Linked DNA regions of Homo sapiens: all the other regions are linked to region 1. Evidence: promoter capture Hi-C in 16 types of primary human blood cells and fetal thymus (Javierre and others, 2016). All regions are on one chromosome and are shown on one strand. Each heading gives the region's core, a stretch centred on a gene start or on the middle of the fragment in contact. The rest is flanking DNA. Distances are from core to core; before and after follow the strand shown. Region 1 holds the start of KCNE2 (potassium voltage-gated channel subfamily E regulatory subunit 2). Region 2 overlaps ATP5PO (ATP synthase peripheral stalk subunit OSCP). Region 3 overlaps LINC00649 (long intergenic non-protein coding RNA 649). Region 4 overlaps LOC105372790 (a long non-coding RNA gene). Region 5 overlaps CLIC6 (chloride intracellular channel 6). Region 6 holds the start of MRPS6 (mitochondrial ribosomal protein S6). Region 7 overlaps LINC00649 (long intergenic non-protein coding RNA 649).

Region 1 (2,700 bases), core at 192-2,691:
GGTTGTGGCAATGATTACCTGAGGTTAATACGATAAAAGCACATGGTAAGCACTCCTAAATGATAGCCAATATAAAGACTCAGTTCTCCCAATTCCAAGGGTCCCCACCATGATAGAAAAGGATCTTTTGGTAAATAGAGTATGTTTAGCTCTTGCTAGGTCTTTAAATACTTTGCTGGGGGCCAGGCACCATGGCTCACACCTGTAATCCCACCGCCTTAGGAGACTGAGGCTGGAGGATCCTTTGCGGCCAAGAGTTTGAGACCAGCCTGGGCAACACAGCAAGACCCTATTTCTACAAAAATAAAAATAAAAATTAACCAGGCTTTGTACACACTTGTAGTCCCATTACTTGGGAGGCTGAGGCAGGAGGATCCCTCAAGCCCAAGAGTTCAAAGCTGTAGTGAGCTATGATTGCGCCACTGCACTCCAGCCTGGGTGACAGAGTAAGACTCTGTTTCAAAACAACAACAACAAACAAAAACCTCAAAACCTCTTTGTTGGACTTAACTTCCAGCTCCTCCATGTAGTACCTTAGTACCCTTGCAGCCCGTTTCTCTTTTACAAGACAACAATGTTGTTATAAACTCATTTGGATGTGGTCCCGTGGAGGAGTATTTACCAGAATCTAGCTTATTTAGCGTCTTCAGAACACGGCACTTGCCTGGAATTATACTGACCCCCTCAACCCATACCAACCACCCAGAGATGGCTGTTCTTGGCTCCTCTCCCTGGGGCCCTGTCCTTCCCACATCGTCTTCTTCTTCTTTCTTCTTCTTTCTTCTTCCTTCTTCTTCCTTCTTCTTCCTTCTTCTTCCTTCTTCTTCCTTCTTCCTCTTCCTCTTCCTCTTCTTCTTTCTTCTTTCATTGAGACAGAGTCTCACTCTGTCACCCAGCCTGGAGTGCCGTGGTATGATTTCAGCTCACTGTAACTTCTGCCTTGTGGATTCAAGTGATTCTCCTGCCTCAGCCTCCAGAGTAGCAGGGACTACAGGTGTGTGCCACCACACCTGGCTAATTTTTACATTTTTAAGTAGAGACGGGGTTTCACCATGTTGGCAAGGCTGGTCTTGAACTCCTGATCTCAGGTGATCTGCCCGCCTCAGCCTCCCAAAGTGCTGGGATTACAGGCGTGAGCCACCCCACCCAGCCCTTCCCACGTATTCTGGCAGGGAATGCTGTTGTCCCCCAAGCCTACCCTAAGAGGAAGACTTCTTCTGGGGAAAGATGTTCACTGTACCCAGGCCCTGCCCTGGCTGGAGCTGGCAGGAAGGGTCCCAGAGCAGGAACTTGTGCCACTCTGCCCAAAGCCAGAGTCCCTGAGGCACACACCCCATCAGGCACCAAGGTGAATTCCAACTGCCAGTTAGTATTTAACTTTCCACATACGATTAGATTAAACATGTGGGTTCATAAAAGCATAGGATTGCAGACTGCAGTTGCAAGGGCTTAGATGGTTGTAAGGTGAAGGTGCCCAGCAGGCTGAGGCTTGTGTGCAACCCAGAAGAGAGCTCGCTAACGCCAGCAAGAAGGTTCAGAACAGCCTGGCTTTGGAAAGGAATTTCATCCTGCCCACACACTGCATAGGTAAGTCTTAGCACACATTCTTTATTTTTTGAGGAATTAAGTAACAAAGTTATCTATGTGCCTTTTCCAGAAAATGATAAAAGGAATGATTTTCCTGGTACATGGCCTGGCTCCTCATCCACTCTTCCTTCTTTCCTTCTTGTGTTTTCCTTACTCATTTCTTTGTTAATTGCCTTAGAATGAAAATTTTGAGAGTTTTTAAAATGGAGGATTCATGGTAAACGTAGGTAATCATATTGTTTTCTCTTCTTGATATAAAAATGAAAGACTTTGCTGCCTTTTATAGGCCCAGGTGATGTGAGCGATCTACCATGTTTCAAGAAAAGAAAACTTTGGGGCTGGGCGCGGTGGCTCACGCCTGTAATCCCAGCACTTTGAGAGGCTGAGGCAGGCGGATCACCTGAGGTCAGGAGATCGAGACCAGCCTGGCCAACATAGTGAAACCCCATCTCTACTAAAAATACAAAAAAAATTAGCCTGGCGTGGTGGCTGGCGCCTGTAGTCCCAGCTACTCAGGAAGCTGAGGCAGGAGAACGGCATGAACCCGGGAGGTGGAGCTTGCAGTGAGCCGAGATCACGCCACTGCACTCCAGCCTGGGCGACAGAGTGAGACTCCATCTCAAAAAAAAAAAAAAGAAAGAAAAGAAAACTCTGGACTTTGGGGTCAAATGAGTGTTACTTTCCTAATAGTGTCCTGATTGCTGTTGTCATGAATAACACACATTCATGACAGGAATGGCTGGAATTAGGGGATCATTCTGTAGCCTGGAGACAGGGCACAACTAATGACATGTGTAAGCTCAAATCATGGTCTTGATCTTATGTCTTGTACCCAGTTGAGCCAACTGGTCACAGCAATGAAAACAGTGAGTTATTGGAATGTGTGACCTCTGCTAGGACAGTCAGTGCTGGACACTGGCTTGGGTGATGTGAGTTCTAGTCCAGGCACTGTGGCCAACTTGAGAGGCTTGTGATCTTGGACAGGTGACTTAAGCCCTCTAGGCTATAGTTATTCCACCTATCAGAGAGCAAACCAGCCTAAATGATCTCCAGGGGCCCAGCCTGTGCTAGGACTCAGCAAGAAGCATTCACTGGAAATGTAGGTCCTCCTAG
Region 2 (2,700 bases), core at 52-2,551, 460 kb before region 1:
AGACCCTGTCTTAAAAATAAAAAGTTAAATGCCATTAAAAACAAATGCAATAATTAACTTTCCCAACTATACCTAGTTCTCTCCAAGTCTGATGAGGGCCCCCTCACACAGACCAGAGAGTGGATGGAATCACTAGTACAAAACATGTAATTATTACCTATTTAACCACGGTTAGTAGCCAGCATAATCAAGGCAATACTTTTTATTCTCAAATATTTAGTTTTTCTTCTTGTTACAGAAGTAATACTTGTTAATGCAGAAAATTCAGCAAGGAAAGAAAAACACAAAGGAAATAAAATCACTTAATGGAGATGTTCTTCTACACAAAAATAAAGGTTTTGATGCACTTCATTTCTGTATTTTTTGTGTGTGTGTGCATTTTAAATACTCTTGTACTATTTATTTATTTATGAGACGGAGTCTTGCTCTTGTCACCCTGGCTGCGCTCGGCCTCTTGTACTATTTAATAGCTAATATGCATCGAAAATATCCCATATACAAGGGACTGTAAAACTTTCACCTTGATTTTAAAAAAATACTGTGAAGAAAATCATTGTAGGCTGGGTGTGGTGGCTCAAGCCTATAATCCCAGCACTTTGGGAGGCTGAGGCCAGTGATCACTTGAGCCCAGGAGTTTAAAGCCAGCCTGAGCATCATGGCAAGATCCTGTCTCTACTATAAATATGAAAACTAGCTGGGTGTGGTCGCACTGCCTCTAGTTTCACTGCCTGTAGTTTCAGCTGAGGTGGGAGGATGGTTTGAGCCCAGGAGGTTGAGGTTGCAGTGAGCCATGGTCGTGCCACTGCACTCCAGCCTGAGTGATGGCGTGAGACTGTCTCAAAAAACAAAACAAATCATTGTACATAGATCTCTAGGTTCTCTCTGGTGACCTCGTAAGGCGACATATGAAGGGCCTCATCATTCCCCAAGATTGTATGTGCTTGATCAACAGGAAGCTTGCTGAGTTTGACTCTGAAGGATCTGGGCAGCATCAGCAGCATGAGGCTCCCGCAAAGACGGTTTGTCCATTGGCAGTCACATGTCTGTAGGAGCTGTGATTGTGTGTATGACGCCACCTTCTGCAGAGCAGGCCTCACTGCAGGCAGGAGGCAGGCAGTGAGTCTGGGGGAACCTGGAATGTGGTCATGGTTAGGTTGCAGACTCAGCTGCGGAGACAGAACTCAATATCCCGTGGCTTTGAAGAGAGGTCTATTTCTTCATCGTGTTTAACAGCCCAGGGGCAGCAGTAAGGCTTGGCAGGGTGGCTCTGCCCTTGGCATCGCTTGCCATCTTGTCTGCATCTAGCTAGAGGGATGGACTAAGGATTGCTCAAGAGGGCAGTCCAGGAAGGCACACCTCGCTTCCTCTCCTTTCCCATTTGCCAGAACTCAGCACCAAGGTCAGGTGCTGCCAGAGGCTCAAGAATGTGGTCTCTAGCTGAGTAGCCCTAGGCCCACCTAAAAGGTGGCTGAATGGTCTTCGGGCCAGCCAGCAGCCTCAGCACTCCTGGTTCCTGGAAAGGTTGAGGGGCCTCAGCACTCCTGGTTCCTGGAAAGGTTGAGGGGCCTCAGCACTCCTGGTTCCTGGAAAGGCTGAGGGGCCACGTGGTGTCTCCGTTGGTTGTCACATTAGGTGATCATGTATTAAAAGCTTTGCCAGGAGGAAGCTGGAGTTGAAGCCAAGCATGAGTGTCAGGAGTGTTGTGCCACATGGAGGGCACGCCAGTCCCAGCACTAGCACATAGGGAGCAGCGCTGGGCCATGTCATTGCTCTGTAGGACTTCTTTGCTGCAATGGTCCTGCCTCTGCCCAACCAGGGGTGGTTCTGGGAAGGGAACTGGTTTGTTGGCCAAAAGTTCTTGGAGGTTGACTAAGGAACAGGCACCTGAGCGGGCTGTTGCGTGGGGAACTCTGTAACTATTTTCTCTAGAAGACCAAAAGGTAAAATGTAGTGGAAGAGCTGACCTGGGAACTGGTTTTGGTTAAAAGGTGAATTGGGAGCATCTTAGGGACAAAGCGGGAAGGGGCAGGGGACCTACCTAAGGTAACTTTTGCCCGTTTGCTCCAGCAACGTGTCGGCGCATGGTGTTAGTTATACAGTGGTAAAAACATGGGCTGTAGGGCCTGACACCAGCTGTCCAGACAGGTGACTCTGAGCACATCTCTAGGGCCCCTCAATCTCTTTCCTCATTTGTAAAGTGGGGTGATGTCTCTCCCACCCGTGTGACAAGGCTGTCATGCAGCTTCAGATGTACATGAAATGGCCTTGAAAGCTACAGAGCAGCCTACAACTAGGTGTGTTCATGTTAGGATCAAGGGCAAGAGGCCTCCCTGGAGGGCTATGGATCAAACACAGATCCGATGATCTAGTAGGGACCAGGAACTCTGAACAAACCCTTAAAGACACGGGATTTTGGCAGGCAGGACCAGATAGACTTTGCTGAGTGACCATGTGTTAGGTGCTGTGTCTAACCAATTAATTCCTAAACATAATCTACTCAAACCAAATTCTCTAGGCCAAAAGGGCTTTTTGGCCTTTATACTCAGGGGATACCAAAAAAGGACATAAAAATAAAGCCTTCTACATTCCAGTTTAAAAGACAGTGAACATAATATGATCTGTTCTGGAAGCTTTTTATTGTTGCTCCAAGTTTAAGAATTTTCACTGATGGCAGAAAACCAACACTTTTAGACAATCTCC
Region 3 (2,700 bases), core at 21-2,520, 420 kb before region 1:
ATCAACAGCTTGGACTGTGGGAAAAGAAGTAAAGCTGAAACTCTGATACGCACAGGCCTGAGTATGTTGTTTACAGAATGAAAAGCGAGTTCCACATAAGCTGAGACTTGGCTTCAGTCATGCCTGGGAATCTACAAACTCAATGCCCTCTCACTGGCAGAACATAAAAGCTAAAGATTACCCCTAATCCCGTGGCATTTTAAAATCCATGGAATGGGCTTTGGTGCTCAGCAATTTTCACTTAAAGTCACACACTCTTTTGGAGGTACAAATGTTTCAGTTCCCCCAGTAGTATCTCTGGTAAGACTTACCAGAATGAATATTGATGCAGATGAAGACACGATTGTTCTGTCCAGAAGTGATCACACTCCCCTTCACCCCCAAGTTCCACTTTTTAAACAATTCAAATAATGGAAGCTCATGTGACAGCTTTCTGCTGGTAAACCAGAGAATAAGATTCACTGCACTGGAAAAAAAGTGGAAACCACTCACATATTTATCAATGGATGCATGAGTAAACAATATCTGGCATATCCATACAATGGAATATTATTCAGCCATAAAAAGGAATGAAGTACTGACACATGCTACCACCCTGAAAAGATGATGCTGGCCGGGCGCAGTGGCTCACGCCTGTAAGCCCAGCACTTTGGGAGGCCAAGGTGGGTGGATCACCTGAGATCAGGAGTTCAAGACCAGCCCGGCCAACATGGTGAAACCCTGTCTCTACTAAAGATACAAAAAAAAAAAAAAAAAAAAAAATTAGCTGACCACGGTGGCAGGCGCCTGTGATCCCAGCTACTTCAGGAGGCCGAGGCAGGAGAATCACTTGAACCCAGGAGGCGGAGGTTGCAGTGAGCCGAGATCGTGACATGGCACTGCAGCCTGGGTGACGAGAGCAAAACTATGGCTCAAAAAGAAAAGAAAAGATGATGCTGAGTGAGAGAAGCCAGATGACACAAAAGTCTACTTGTATGATTCCATTTATATGACGTGTCAGCAGAAAAACAAACCCGTAGAGACAGAAAGCAGATGAGTGGTTTCCAGGGTCCGGGGAAGGGAAAAGGGAAGTGACTGCTAACGGGTAAGGCATTAGCTTTAGTTAGTTGATTTCTTTTTGGGGTGATGAATATTCTGGAATTAACGGTGATGGTTGCACAACTTTGTGACTATACTAAAAACACTAAATTGTATAGTTTCAGAGAGAAATTTTATAGTGTGTAAACTACATCTCAATTAAAAAAAAAAAAAGTAAAAAGAAAACGCTGCATAAGCCTCCCGTGGGGTTAAAATAAGAGTAAGAGAAAAAAACATGACTTCATTGTGTGGGTGCCTGTGTTGAAGATGATTTAGTAGCTTCTGCCGTGAGGCATTTGCTAGAATAAAATCCTTTCTGCCCTCATCATTGTCAGCACACTGGTTCGGGCCTTTAGCACTCCTACCTGGATCGTGGAACTAAAGAATTTTAGCAGCTGACAAGGACCTTAAAGATTGTAGCCTAACTCTCTCGCTTGTCAGGGGAGGCAGCTGGTGCCAGGCAGAAGAAGTGGCATGTTTGGAGTGGCCTGCCTGGTGTCTGAGCCACACCTGACACCCAGTGTTCTTTCCACTGGGCCTTTATTGCAATTGTTTTCCTCTCTCTTTAGTCTCTTCCTGCTCCAGTAGGATTGTACATTCCACTGACCTAATCTTCCCGAAATACAGATCTCATCACGTCACTGCCCTGCTGAAAAAACCCACAGTGGCTCCCCACTGCCTTCAGGCCCAGACCCCGGGAGCCTCCTTCACCTTCTGTCCACTTCTTGGCTCTCATGGCTTCCTAAACAAACTCCCTTTGCCACTGCAGCACATGGCGTGTGTCCCAATATCACGCTTCTGGGCACATGTTGTTAATCCACTTTGCATATGTTTATGTCTTTGTGGCTCAGCTAGATTGCAAGTTTCTCGGAGACCAGGATCATGCCTTTGACCTCCTGACACAGGGCACAGTGCAATTCCTTGTACTTGTTAGGGGTCTGGAAATATTTGTAGATTAGTTGATTTCATTCACAACCACAGCTAGTCTTCACCTGGTACACCTAAGAATATCTTGGAGGAGGCCGGTTGCGGTGGCTCATGCCTGTAATCCCAGCACTTTGGGAGGCTGAGGTGGGCGGATCACGAGGTCAGGAGATCGAGACCATCCTGGCCAACATGGCGAAACCCTGTCTCTACTAAAAATACAAAAAAAAAAAAACAAAAAATTAGCTGGGCGTGGTGGCATGCGCGTGTAGTCCCAGCTACTTGGGTGGCTGAGACAGGAGAATGGCTTGAACCATGGAGTTGGAGGTTGCAGTGAGTCGAGATCATGCCACAGCACTCCAGCCTGGTGACAGAGTGAGACTCCATCTCAAAAAAAGAAAAAAGAAAAAATCTTAGAGGAGTTCTGGCAACAGGTCACTGTTTTATGCTGCGTCTCTCATGAGTTTAACTTTTGGGTGTAATCTGGACAAGAAGATTCTCGAAACCTCCTATGAGATTGGATTTACTGTCAAAAAAGCAAAACACACTGACTTCAAAAGAAAAAAGCAAACATTATTTTTGAAACAACCTTTTAATTTCTTATAGAAGTACTGTAATTTGTGTTCTTGGAGATTTAGAAAATTCAGAGAAAGTTCCAAGAAAATAAAGAAGAAAATTGAAAGCTCCCATAATCCTAGC
Region 4 (2,700 bases), core at 30-2,529, 340 kb before region 1:
GACATGGGGAAGACAGCAGCAGAAGCAAGTTTGGGATGAAGATGATGAGTTTTCAGTGTGGAACTTTTAGCTGAGTATGTTTTGTGAGCGTTTCTGTGTGAGTCAGTCTAGAAATGGCAACTGAAGCCATAGATGTTTGGAATTTTCCAGCTAAGAGAGAAAAGGAGTAGGCTTAGGAAAAGCCCCAGAAGACACTAATGGCAGAAGGATGGACAGAAGGAGAGAAGCCCAAGAAGGAATGTGGGAAAAAGATTTCGAGGGGGTCTAAGGAGGACCAGGAATAGATGGTATCGCAAGGAGAGAAGGGCTTGCCAGGTCAAGTTAGATATAAAAGTGTTATGGGTTTAAAATGTGTCCCCCAAAACGAAATGTGGAAGTTCTAATCTCTGGTACCTGTGACCTCATTTAGAGGTCATGAATTTGCAGATATAATCAAGTAAAGATGAGGTCATGCTAGATTAGGGTGGGCCCTAATCTTATAAAAAGAGGGAAATTTGGACACGGAGACACAAGCAAGGCAATGTGAAGACAGAGGCAGAGTTTGGCATGATGCCACCATAACCCGAGGAAAGCCAAGGAAGGAGGGCAACCACCAGGACTAGGAAGAGGCAGGGAAGTCTCCCTCCCGAGAGCCTTCAGAGGGAGCGTGGCCTTGTCAACACCATGATTTTAGACTTCTGGCCCCCAAACTGTGAGACAATATGTTTCTGCTGTTTCAAGCTACCTGGTTTGTGGTAATCTGTTATAGCAGTCCTACAAAACTAATACAGGAAGGGAAAGTATCCACAGATGTAGCAACAAGGAAGTCATAAGAAACCGTGGTAAAACTAGCTTCAGTCTAGCAGTGAGGGAGACTCAGACTGGAGAGGGTGGTAAAGCTAATGACAGGGGGAGAAATGGAGACCAGGTCTAAGCAAGTCTCCCCAAGCCTGGCTACGCAGGGAGAGAGAGAAGTCTACAGTAGCTAGAAGATGTCAATGAAATCTATCGAACGATCTACCAAATGATCTATCTATCTATCATCTATCTATCTATCTATCTATCTATCTATCTATCTATCTATCTATCATCTATCTATCTTGAGATTTTTTTTTTTTTTTTGAGACAGAGTCTCACTCTGTTTCCCAGGCTGGAGTGCAGTGGTGTGATGTCAGCTCACTGCAACCTTCTCCACCTCCCGGGTTCAAGCAATTCTCATGCCTCAGCCTCGTGAGTAGCTGGGAATTACAGGCACACACCACCTTGCCCAGCTAATTTTTTGTATTTTAGTAGAGACGGGGTTTCACCATGTTGCCCAGGCTGGTCTCAAACTCCTGAGCTCAGGCAATCTGCCCACCTCGGCCTCCTAAAGTGCTAGGATTACAGGTATGAGCCACCATGCCCAGCCCTCTCCTCTATCGATATCTATCTATCTATCTATCTATCTATCTATCTATCTATCTATCTATCTTCTATTTATATCTATCTATCTATCTATCTTCTATTTATATCTATCTATCTATCTATCTATCTATCTATCTATCTATCTATCTATCTATCTTCTATTTATATCTATCTATCTATCTTCTATTTATATCTATCTATCTATCTATCTATCTAATCTATCTATCTACCTACCTATGTATCTATAATCTATCTATCTATCCATCCCTCTAACTACCTACCTATTTTAAGTAACTAATTAACATATCCATCACCTTACATAGTTACTATTTGTGTCTGTTTTTAAGTGGTGAGAACACTTAATGATCAACTCTCTTAGCAAATTTAGCATATTCAATACAGTATTACTCACTATAGTCACTATGCTGCACATTAGCTCCCCAGAATGCACTGCTCCTCTATAACTGGAACTTTGTACCCTTTGACCAATATTTCTCCATTTCTCCCACTGCCCCCTCAGCCCCTGACAACCAGCATGCTACTCTCTGCTTTTATCAGTTGCACTTTTCTTTTGGTTGTTTTTGAGACGGAGTCTCCCTCTGTCACCCAGGCTGGAGTGCAGTGACGCGATGTCGGCTCACTGCTACCTCCGCCTCCCGGTTTCAAGCGACTCTCCTGTCTCAGCCTCCCGAGTAGCTGGGAGTACAGGTGCATGCCACCACGCCCAGCTAATTTTTGTATCTTTAGTAGAGACCGGGTTTCACCATGTTGGTCAGGCTGGTCTCGAATTCCTGGCATCAGGTGATCCTCGGCCTCCCAAAGTGCTGGGATTACAGGCGTGGGCATGCCGGCAATGAGTTCCACTTTTTTTTAGACGTAAGTGAGATCATGTCATATTTATCCTTCTGTGTCTGGCTTATTTCACTTAGCGCAATATCTTCCAGACTTATCTGTTGTTCAAAATGTTGGGATTTCCTTCTCTTTTTAAGGCTGAATAATATTCCAGTGTATTCGTATGTGACATGTATGTATCATATGTTCTTTATCTACTTATCTGTTGATGGACACTTAGTTTAATTTCATGTCTTGGCTATTGTGAATAATACTGCAATAAACATGGGGGTGCATATGCATCTTCAAGATATTGATTTCATTTCTTTTGGATATATCCCTAGAAGTGGGATTGCTGGATCATATAATAGTTCTGTTTTTAGTTTTTTGAGGAATTTCTCCACAGCGGCTGTACTAATTTACATTTCCACCAAGTGTACAAGAGTTTCCTTTTCTCTGAAAGAGACCAGTACCAGTCCATGGCCT
Region 5 (2,700 bases), core at 120-2,619, 310 kb after region 1:
CGCCGGGAGGACGGAGAGGCGTCCGAGCCCCGGGCCCTGGGGCAGGAGCACGACATCACCCTCTTCGTCAAGGTAAAGCTCGCTTCCCTCAATTCTTAGGACGACCCCCTTCCATTCGAGGTCTTGGTCATCTCAGATCCCAGAGGGACGCGCAGGGAGGAACCCTTGGTGGTATCCTGATTGTCATCAGGCGCTTCCATGCGCGGGCGGTAGGCGGGACAGCCGGGATTTCCCGGAGAAGAGTTTCCAGGGCATTTGCGGGAGGACTCAATGGTTTGGAAGCAAAGACTTTGGGGGTGGGGGCGACGGGGAGTGCGATGGGGGCCAATGAGGATGTGGGGTTGTGGGTTCAGCATCCCACTGTCCTTTGACCTGAACATCCTAACCAGCCCTCCTAGTCAGGAGGTTATTAACGAATTAACTAAAAAGTTAAAAAAAAAAAAAAAAAAAAAGAAGAAGAAGAAGAAAAGCAACGCACCCTATTGGTGTTCAAAGGGATTTCTGCCAAAGGAAGCTTTAATACTTGAAGCCAAAAAACGCAGACAGGTAGGTTCAATGTGGGAGGTGCCTTCCAGACTCAATCTCGGAGACCCAGAGCTGGTCAATGTTTTCAACTCCAAAAAGGTATTCCATTTTGGTAGAATCAACAATGTACGTTTAGGGGGGAATGGAGCCTTATTGACATAATGTTTTTTGAACGTTTTAACATTGAATTTGGAAGAATACAAGATGCCGGTGACTTGAACATCATCTGCTTGTATGTCATGTTTTTAACCTCAGTTCACATGGGAAGAGAGCAAGGATTCTGTGAAGGAATCTGTAGAGACACAACTGAGGAAGTTTTGAATTTAAACAGGAATTATTTACAAGGCATGAAAAATGAAAGAACAAAGCTCAGCAGCAGTTCACACCAGGATCTTTGTTTAAAAAGCCTTTTCTGAGGACCTTTGGCCAGACCCAGGAAAGTTGGAGATAATAAGGTCAAGAATGTGCATTTCATGTTGAATCATAATCCTTCAGAAATACTTCCAGGCTTATAGAAACCAGTTACCATCTAAATCTCTCTGGCTGAAATGCAAGCACATTTTAATAAGTAAAAGGAAATGCTCCCAATGTGATTAACATCAGAATTTTAAGAATTGTTTGGGTGGCGAGGGGCTTGGGAAAGAAGGGGTGTGTGTGTGTTTCTTCCCTAGTGAGAAGGTGCTGTTTCTGGCTTTTTTCAAGACCCTGGGACATAACCTCAGGACACCAGCCCCTGAGAGGCTGCTGGGAAGAGCTGGAGCGCAGTGCTGCTGTGTGACCCCAAATCTGCTCCTCTCCATCACCTTGGTTTTAGAAATTTCCCGTTGCTGTGGTTGTAAGGATACATGATTCTGGCACACGGCCTCTTAGCACAGTTTTGATGGACAGTAGCAGCTTCTGGCTAGTCTCCCTGTTTCAGTTCTCTGTCCTCTCCAATCTAGTCTCTTTGTAATAGCCAGTGAGCTGCGGACAAGATCTGATCATTTTATTTCTTTGTGTAAAATTCTTCAGTTGTTTATTGCAGAATTTCAGGTAAATCCCCACTCCTTAGGCAGCCCACAAGGCCCTTTGTGATGTTATTTCTGCCTTCTTTCTTTCTGGCCTTGGCATTGCTGGGTGTCCCCACCCTTTGTTACCTGTGGTCTCGCTATGCCACCTGGATTAAACTACTTACTGTTCCTTGAGGGAGCCACGTTCTTTCCTGCCTTGAAACTTTCTACATTATGTACCCTCTGTCTGAATGGAGTTTCTCCTCCTCGCCCCTGTCTGCCCTCCTGCCTAGTTATCTGCCACAAGTCCAAGAGTTAGCATGGATGTCATATCTTCCAGTCCCAGTCGGATGACCCTGTTAAGGCATTGCCCTCAGCCTGCTATGTCTCTTTCCTCAGCTGTGTGAAATTCATCATTCTATCTCCAGCGCAGAACACAGGTGTGGGATGTGGTGAAGGCTTGAATGGGCGGCTAGCTGCTGGATAGTGTGGTGATCAAGAACACGGACTTTAGAGCCAGTGGGTCTGGGATCAAATCTTGGCTTTGCTAATTTCTTGCCGTGTGACCTTGGGCAAGTTACTTAATCTTTTGGTATCATTGTGGTCTCATTGATAAAATGGGGACGGTAATAGTACCTAGCCCTTGAGGTTACCGTGAGAAATTGAGAATTAGATTACACAAAGCACTTAGAAAAGTGCCTGGCTGGAAATAAGCTTAGTACACATGTGAGTTCCTATTGTTACATCTGTGCTGCTCGCATAACTTGCACTGATTTTGCACAGAAACAGTTATCCCTGCCATTACTTATTTTATTTATTTTTAGGGAAAATCCCTCTAGGTACGTAATTACCTCCAATCTCTAGGGATAAGAATGTTGTGAAAAGTAAAAACAACTTGCTTCCTCAAATACTGCTTGGGAGGAGTTTGTGTGGGCAGAAGCATGTGGCCTAGCACCAGCAGCGGCCCAGCACGAGCAGCTTACCCACAATGCTTTATTCTGATGATTGATCTGGTGCTCAGTTGCTAACTTTTTTTTTTCTTAAGGAAACAGATAGATCTCCAAATGATGAGATTGGTTAACTTTTTTATTTTTTTTTTAATTGAGACAGGTTCTTGCTCTGTCACCCAGACAGGAGTGCAGTGGTGCTATCTCAGCTCACTGCAACCTCCACAGACTGGGTTCAA
Region 6 (2,700 bases), core at 12-2,511, 290 kb before region 1:
GCCAAGCAAAGAATCTTTGTCACCTCAGGGCTGTTGTGAGAATTTTAGGAGACACATCCACCAGCCTTGGCATGGGGCCTGATGCAGAGTAAGTGTTCACTAAACTTTACCTATTAACGTTAAAGCACTTTAAGTTGACAAACACTCCACGTACAGAGCTTTTAATGGGGCAAACAAGGGGCAGAGGCCTCAGCTGCAGGGTACTCAACCTCTAAGGAAGGGCGCTGGAGAAAACTGCACTTGCAGAGCCCCTGGCTGGAGGGCGGAGAACCATGTGGGTGTAAAGGGATGGCAAGGGCAGAACGTATGCCCCTGCCCACCTTAGACAGTTGCTAAAGGGTCTCCCAGGCACTCAGCCTAGCCTTTAAGTGAAAGCGGAGGAAACATTTAAAGAAATGAGATAGAGTTAAGGTGTTCGCCTGCCCTCCGCTGAAACACGTGGGGGCAGGTCAGGGGCACACCACAAATGCCCGTATCGCGCCTGTGTGTACCAGGCACCGTCCTCGGAGGTTAACGTGCAGTAACTCACTCGGGTCCCCACTTTCGGCACAGGCAGCAGGCCCAAGGTCACGCAGTGCCAAGGGACTGAGTCAGACCCGAGCCCGCGCGCCGCGGCCCACGGCCTGTGCCAGCGCGCTCCTCGCCGGGTAGGGGGCCTGGTCAGCCGCGTCAGACCTGAGAGTTGTGGCTGGGGGCGAGAGCTGCACCCCCCTACCGACCCCGGGCGGGAATGTTCCAGAACCCCTGCGAGCAGCCGTTGGCCGCACAGCCCCCGGGCCGGCCGCGACCCCGCCTTGCGCCGCGAAGGTCCCTAGCTCCGGGGAGTCGCGGGCGAGGGGCACGCGCACGGACGAGACCGCACCGCAGCGCACGCGCACTGGCGGGCACTCACTCGCCCGCCGCCCGGGAGGAGAAGGAAGGCATGGAAAGTTCCAGCCGGTTCGAGAGCTAGGTAGCAGGCATGGCAGGAGGCGGGGTAGGGGCAGGCAGGGTCGCGAGGGGGCGTGCGGCCGCCGCGAGCCGCTCTGGGCCGCGTCTGCAGCACCGCCCCTAGCCGCGGCCGGCGGGCTGGGCTGGGGTCGGGGCGGGGGCGGTGCGGCGGGTGCGGGGCTGCGGAGGGGGCGTGGCGGCCGCCCGCGGGCGGAGAGGGGGCGGGGCGGCGGCAAGGCGCGCGGGCGGGGCGGGGCGCGCCGAGGGGGCGTGGCGCGGCGTCTGCGCAGCTGCCAGCGCCTTTAAGCCCGGGCTCGCGCTCTCGGACCGTGCTTTCGCCGCCTGGGAGCCGTCCGGCGCAGCAGTTTCTAGGTCCCCACTGTCCCCGCCGTCCCGCCCCTTCGCGTCCCGGGAACCGGCTGGCTTCCGAGCCGCACTCGCCGATCCTCCAGGCATGCCCCGCTACGAGCTGGCTTTAATCCTGAAAGCCATGCAGCGGGTAAGTGACCTTCCCTCAGAGCCGGTCTTCCCGCGCGGGCGCCCCCGCTGCCGCTAGGCCGCCGTCCCCCGCGCGCCCTGGCCGCGGGACCCCGGGCCTTCCTGCACTCCTCGGAGGAGGCCGGGGCGGCGGGCGGGCGGCGGGCGTCCGCGGGAAGGGGGCGCGCGTGGGCCGGCCGGGCCCGGCCGCGTGCGCGCGGGAGGCGGGGGTGTGCCTGCGCGTGTGCGCGGTCCGGGAGGGTGTGCCTCGCAAGCGGCCCGCCGGGCGGGGGGCGGGGCGGACCGAGCGGGCCCCGACCCCGATCCCGGCGCCGGCCCGCGGGAGTCCAGTGGAAGGTCCGCGGGAGGACACGCGCGGGCGCCCAGCCCGACTCCGGCCCGTCCCCGCCAGTCGTGAAGCTGCCTCGTCGCCGGCCCCGCCGCCGCCGCCTGGTCCGTCCCGCTCCGCCGCCCGCCGGCTGCCGCCGACCGCCTCCGCTCTAGCGCCCGCCGGCCGCCCGGAACGTCCGCGCCCAATAAAGCGTTCCTCCAAAGCTTGTTTGTGCCGTTGTCTGTATTCCAGTCTCTTGCAATCGCTCTCATGTTAAAAAAAAATCTTTTGACTTTTCTTTTTCTGACTTCAGCGAAAATCCCGCTCCGGGTGCCCTTAGCCCAGTTTCATTCATCCAAGTTGTGGCCTTTCTTGCGCCTCCAGAAGACACTTTCTTCCCCCTGCTTTTGATTGATCTTGAGGTAGGGGATTTCAGGTTTGGAGGGATGCTAAGCGAACCAGCGGCCCCTTTCAGGTGACGGCGTGGCCAAGGACAGGGGCCCGCGGCCCGGAGGCAGCTCACTTCGTCCTCTGTCCTGGGTCATGTACTCCTCAAGTCGTCGCCGAAATCCCCATTCTCCCGTGAATTCGGAATTCGGTAACGTAGTTTGGTGTTATGTTTTTTTTTCTCCACCAGGTGTAATAAAACAAAAATCATTGTACCACGTCCGAACTTTGTAAGCACAGCTTCCTACAGCGCTAGAGGAGTGGACGCATTTTTACGTTTGAAATTAGGCTCCAGGTCAATTGCGAGGAGTATTACCAAGTTTGGTTGAACTTAAGCTCAATTGATAAACTAACAATCACGGAGCGTCGGGAGATTGTTAGGAAGTGTGCTTTGCATATTGTTAACTGGGAAGGGACGCCAGTGCCTCTCTATGAGGTCCAGACAGCCTGGCCAGGCATGCCATTGTGTCCCCCAGCTTGTTCTTCATGGATTTGGAAGAAGTTAAGATAGTATC
Region 7 (2,700 bases), core at 22-2,521, 400 kb before region 1:
TCATTGAATGGGCTTAATAGCAGAATGGAGATGGCAGAGGAGTCAGTGAACTTGAAGATGTATCTATAAAAATTATCTGGTCTCAAGGACAGAGAGAAAAAATGATTGAAAAAAATTAATAGAATCTCAGTGGCCTGTGGTACAAGACCAAAAGGTCTGACATTCTTGTTCTTGTAGCACCAAAAGGAAAGAGAAAAGAGACTGGATTATGAAAAAAATATATATTTGAAGAATTAATAGCTGAAAATGTCTTACATTTCGGAAAAACATACATTTGTAGATTTAAGAAGCTCAGCAAGTCTCAAACAGAATAAACCAAAAGGAAATCATGTCCAGATGCATCACACACTGTTGAAAACCAGATATAATTGAAAAATCTTGAAAGCAGCCAGAAATAAGTAACACATTATATATAGGGGAACAAGGATTCATATGACTGAGTATTTCTCACCAGAAACCATGGAGGCTAGAAGACAGTAGAATAACATTTTTAAAGTGCTTAAAGAAAGGAGCTTTTAACCCAGAATTCTATATTCAGAAAAAATATCCTTCAGGAATGATGGTAAAATAAATACATTCTCAGATTAAGAAAAAGTGAGAGAATTCTTTGGTATTAAACCTGCTCTAAAATAAATGCTAAAGAGAGTCTTACAGGCTGAAGGTAAATGATACCAGAGGGAAACTTGAAACTTCAGGAATGAAGGAAGAGCAACAGAAATGGTAAATATTGAGCTAAATAAAATACCCTATTTTTATCCTTTTAAATTCTTTAAATATTTATGGCTGTTGAAGGCAAAAATCATAACATTGGTGAGGTTCTCAATGTATATAGATATAAACATATGACAGGTATAACATAAAGGGGGAGGGTAAAAGTATGTATATGTTTGTCAGGCTCCTACATTTTACTTTGAATTGGTAAAATAGTAACTTGAAGTAGACTGTAAAACACTAGGAATGCATATTGCAATATCTAGAACAGTCACTATACACACACACACACACACAAAGAGATATTGCCAAAAAAGGCAACAGATACATTAAAATGAAATACTAAAAACTTTAAGTAATTCAAAAGAAGGCAGGAACAATGGAACAGAACCAAAACACACAGAGGACAAACAGAAACCACATAATACAATAATAGACATAAATTCAACCATACCAATAATTACATTAAATGTAAATGAGCTAAACATACCACTAAAAAAACAGAGATTGTCAGATTGGATAAAAAAGAAGACTCAAATATAAGCTGTCTACAAAAAGCTAATTTAAATATGACATAGGTTAAAAAAGGAAACAATATAAAGCAAATATGATGAAATGATAGAACCAAGTGGTAGATACCTGTGAGTTAATTCTGTTACTTGCTATTATATTCTATATGTTTGAAATATTTATAATAATAATAAAAGGTGATTGGATGATTTTTTACATAAATATTCTAGTCCTCTAGGGAGGAAAAAGGAAAGATTGGTTAATAGATACAAGTTACAGTAAGATGGGAGGGATAAGTTCTAGTGTTCTACGGCATTTTAGGGTGAATATGGTTAACAATAATTAAATGTACATGTTCAAAAAGCTGGAAGAGAGGTTTTTTTTTTTTTGAGATAGAGTCTTACCCTGTCACCCAGGCTGGAGTGAAGTGGAGTGATCTCAGCTTACTGCAACCTCTGCCTCCTGAGTTTAAGCAATTCTTGTGCCTCAGCCTCTTGTGCCTCTGCAGCTCTGTAGCGATTCTTTTTTTTTTTATTTTTTGAGACAGAGTCTTGCTCTGTTGCCCAGGCTGGAGTGCAGTGGCATGATCTTGGCTCACTGCAATCTCCACCTCCTGGGTTCAAGAGATTCCCGTGTCTCAGCCTCCTGAGTAGCTGAGACTGCAGGCTTGCACCACCATGCCTGGCTAATTTTTTGTATTTCAATAGAGACAGGTTTCACCATGTTGGCCAGGATGGTCTTGATCTCCTGACCTTGTGAGCTCCTGACCTCGTGATCTCCCACCTCGGCCTCCCAAAGTGCTGGGATTATAGGCATGAGCCACTGTGCTCAGCCTAAAAGAGAGGATTTTGATTGTCTGCAACACAAAAAAATGATAAATGTTTGAGGTGATGGATATGCTAATTACCCTGATTGGATCATTATACATTGTACACATGTATCAAAATATCACTCTGTGTCCCATAAATATGTACAATTATTGCATATCAACTAAAAATAAAAAGAATCAATGCCCTTTAGATGGGTATATGAGATCTTTAGATGCCTGGCTCCAGACTGATGTCTCATCTTTTTCCTTCTAGTCCCTGGTGTGGGGCCAGAGCTTAGGATCTGGAATCAGACTTCTTAAACCCAAATTCTACTTCTTACCTGGTAATCACGTCCAAAGGACTTTAACTTTCTTAAACCTCAGAAGACTTCAACAGTAAAATAATTATAACATTGCCTAACTCTAAGGGTTTATTTTGAGGAATAAATGTAATATTGTACCTAAGTAATGGCAAAATGCTTGGCACATAGGACTTGTTTAACGAACATGAGCTGTTATTAGCTAGACTGATTCACCTGGCTGGAGTCACTGATTCCACTGTAGGTCATCCTAGTTCCCTGCCTTTTACTACCAACGAAACACAGATTGCAACACATTAATGGCTGGTGAAATCAATAGTTTATTGTGACCAGCATTAAAAAAAAAAATTG

What was found. Contacts are between HindIII fragments. The CHiCAGO score rates a contact against its expected background, and 5 or more counts as called.
Region 2: a fragment that was not itself captured here is called in contact with the fragment with the promoter of KCNE2 in region 1 in 1 of 17 cell types (naive CD8 T cells); the score reaches 5.1 in naive CD8 T cells.
Region 3: a fragment that was not itself captured here is called in contact with the fragment with the promoter of KCNE2 in region 1 in 3 of 17 cell types (neutrophils, total B cells and naive B cells); the score reaches 8.0 in neutrophils.
Region 4: a contact is called between a fragment that was not itself captured here and the fragment with the promoter of KCNE2 in region 1, in 1 of 17 cell types (non-activated CD4 T cells). The highest score is 5.4, in non-activated CD4 T cells.
Region 5: a fragment that was not itself captured here is called in contact with the fragment with the promoter of KCNE2 in region 1 in 1 of 17 cell types (M2 macrophages); the score reaches 6.4 in M2 macrophages.
Region 6: a contact is called between the fragment with the promoter of MRPS6 here and the fragment with the promoter of KCNE2 in region 1, in 1 of 17 cell types (neutrophils). The highest score is 6.0, in neutrophils.
Region 7: a contact is called between a fragment that was not itself captured here and the fragment with the promoter of KCNE2 in region 1, in 3 of 17 cell types (naive CD8 T cells, total CD8 T cells and naive B cells). The highest score is 5.6, in naive CD8 T cells.

The regions. Positions count from the first base shown.
Region 1 is chr21:34,362,565-34,365,264 of GRCh38, forward strand. KCNE2 (potassium voltage-gated channel subfamily E regulatory subunit 2) reads left to right here and starts at 1,442. Exons shown (of 2, transcript NM_172201.2): 1 at 1,442-1,587. All of the region lies in intron 2 of LOC105372791 (a long non-coding RNA gene), which reads right to left. The HindIII fragment of the contact is 16,740 bases long and covers 1-2,700 here.
Region 2 is chr21:33,900,839-33,903,538 of GRCh38, forward strand. ATP5PO (ATP synthase peripheral stalk subunit OSCP) reads right to left here. Exons shown (of 7, transcript NM_001697.3): 7 at 2,615-2,700. The coding sequence ends at 2,688. Among named protein-coding and RNA genes, the nearest start is that of ATP5PO, 14 kb to the right of the region's middle. RefSeq lists an enhancer at 943-1,538. The HindIII fragment of the contact is 694 bases long and covers 955-1,648 here.
Region 3 is chr21:33,939,349-33,942,048 of GRCh38, forward strand. All of the region lies in intron 1 of LINC00649 (long intergenic non-protein coding RNA 649), which reads left to right. Among named protein-coding and RNA genes, the nearest start is that of LINC00649, 9.6 kb to the left of the region's middle. The HindIII fragment of the contact is 3,719 bases long and covers 1-2,700 here.
Region 4 is chr21:34,025,113-34,027,812 of GRCh38, forward strand. The region is part of intron 2 of LOC105372790 (a long non-coding RNA gene); the gene reads left to right. Among named protein-coding and RNA genes, the nearest start is that of MRPS6, 47 kb to the right of the region's middle. The HindIII fragment of the contact is 2,941 bases long and covers 1-2,700 here.
Region 5 is chr21:34,670,691-34,673,390 of GRCh38, forward strand. It overlaps CLIC6 (chloride intracellular channel 6), which reads left to right. Exons shown (of 6, transcript NM_053277.3): 1 at 1-72. Among named protein-coding and RNA genes, the nearest start is that of CLIC6, 3.0 kb to the left of the region's middle. RefSeq lists a silencer at 1-16. The HindIII fragment of the contact is 1,714 bases long and covers 513-2,226 here.
Region 6 is chr21:34,072,317-34,075,016 of GRCh38, forward strand. MRPS6 (mitochondrial ribosomal protein S6) reads left to right here and starts at 1,262. Exons shown (of 3, transcript NM_032476.4): 1 at 1,262-1,429. The coding sequence starts at 1,385. SLC5A3 (solute carrier family 5 member 3) reads left to right here and starts at 1,262. Exons shown (of 2, transcript NM_006933.7): 1 at 1,262-1,429. RefSeq lists silencers at 710-1,229, 1,520-1,919 and an enhancer at 1,173-2,123. The HindIII fragment of the contact is 10,607 bases long and covers 1-1,960 here.
Region 7 is chr21:33,958,674-33,961,373 of GRCh38, forward strand. All of the region lies in intron 2 of LINC00649 (long intergenic non-protein coding RNA 649), which reads left to right. Among named protein-coding and RNA genes, the nearest start is that of LINC00649, 29 kb to the left of the region's middle. The HindIII fragment of the contact is 3,817 bases long and covers 1-2,700 here.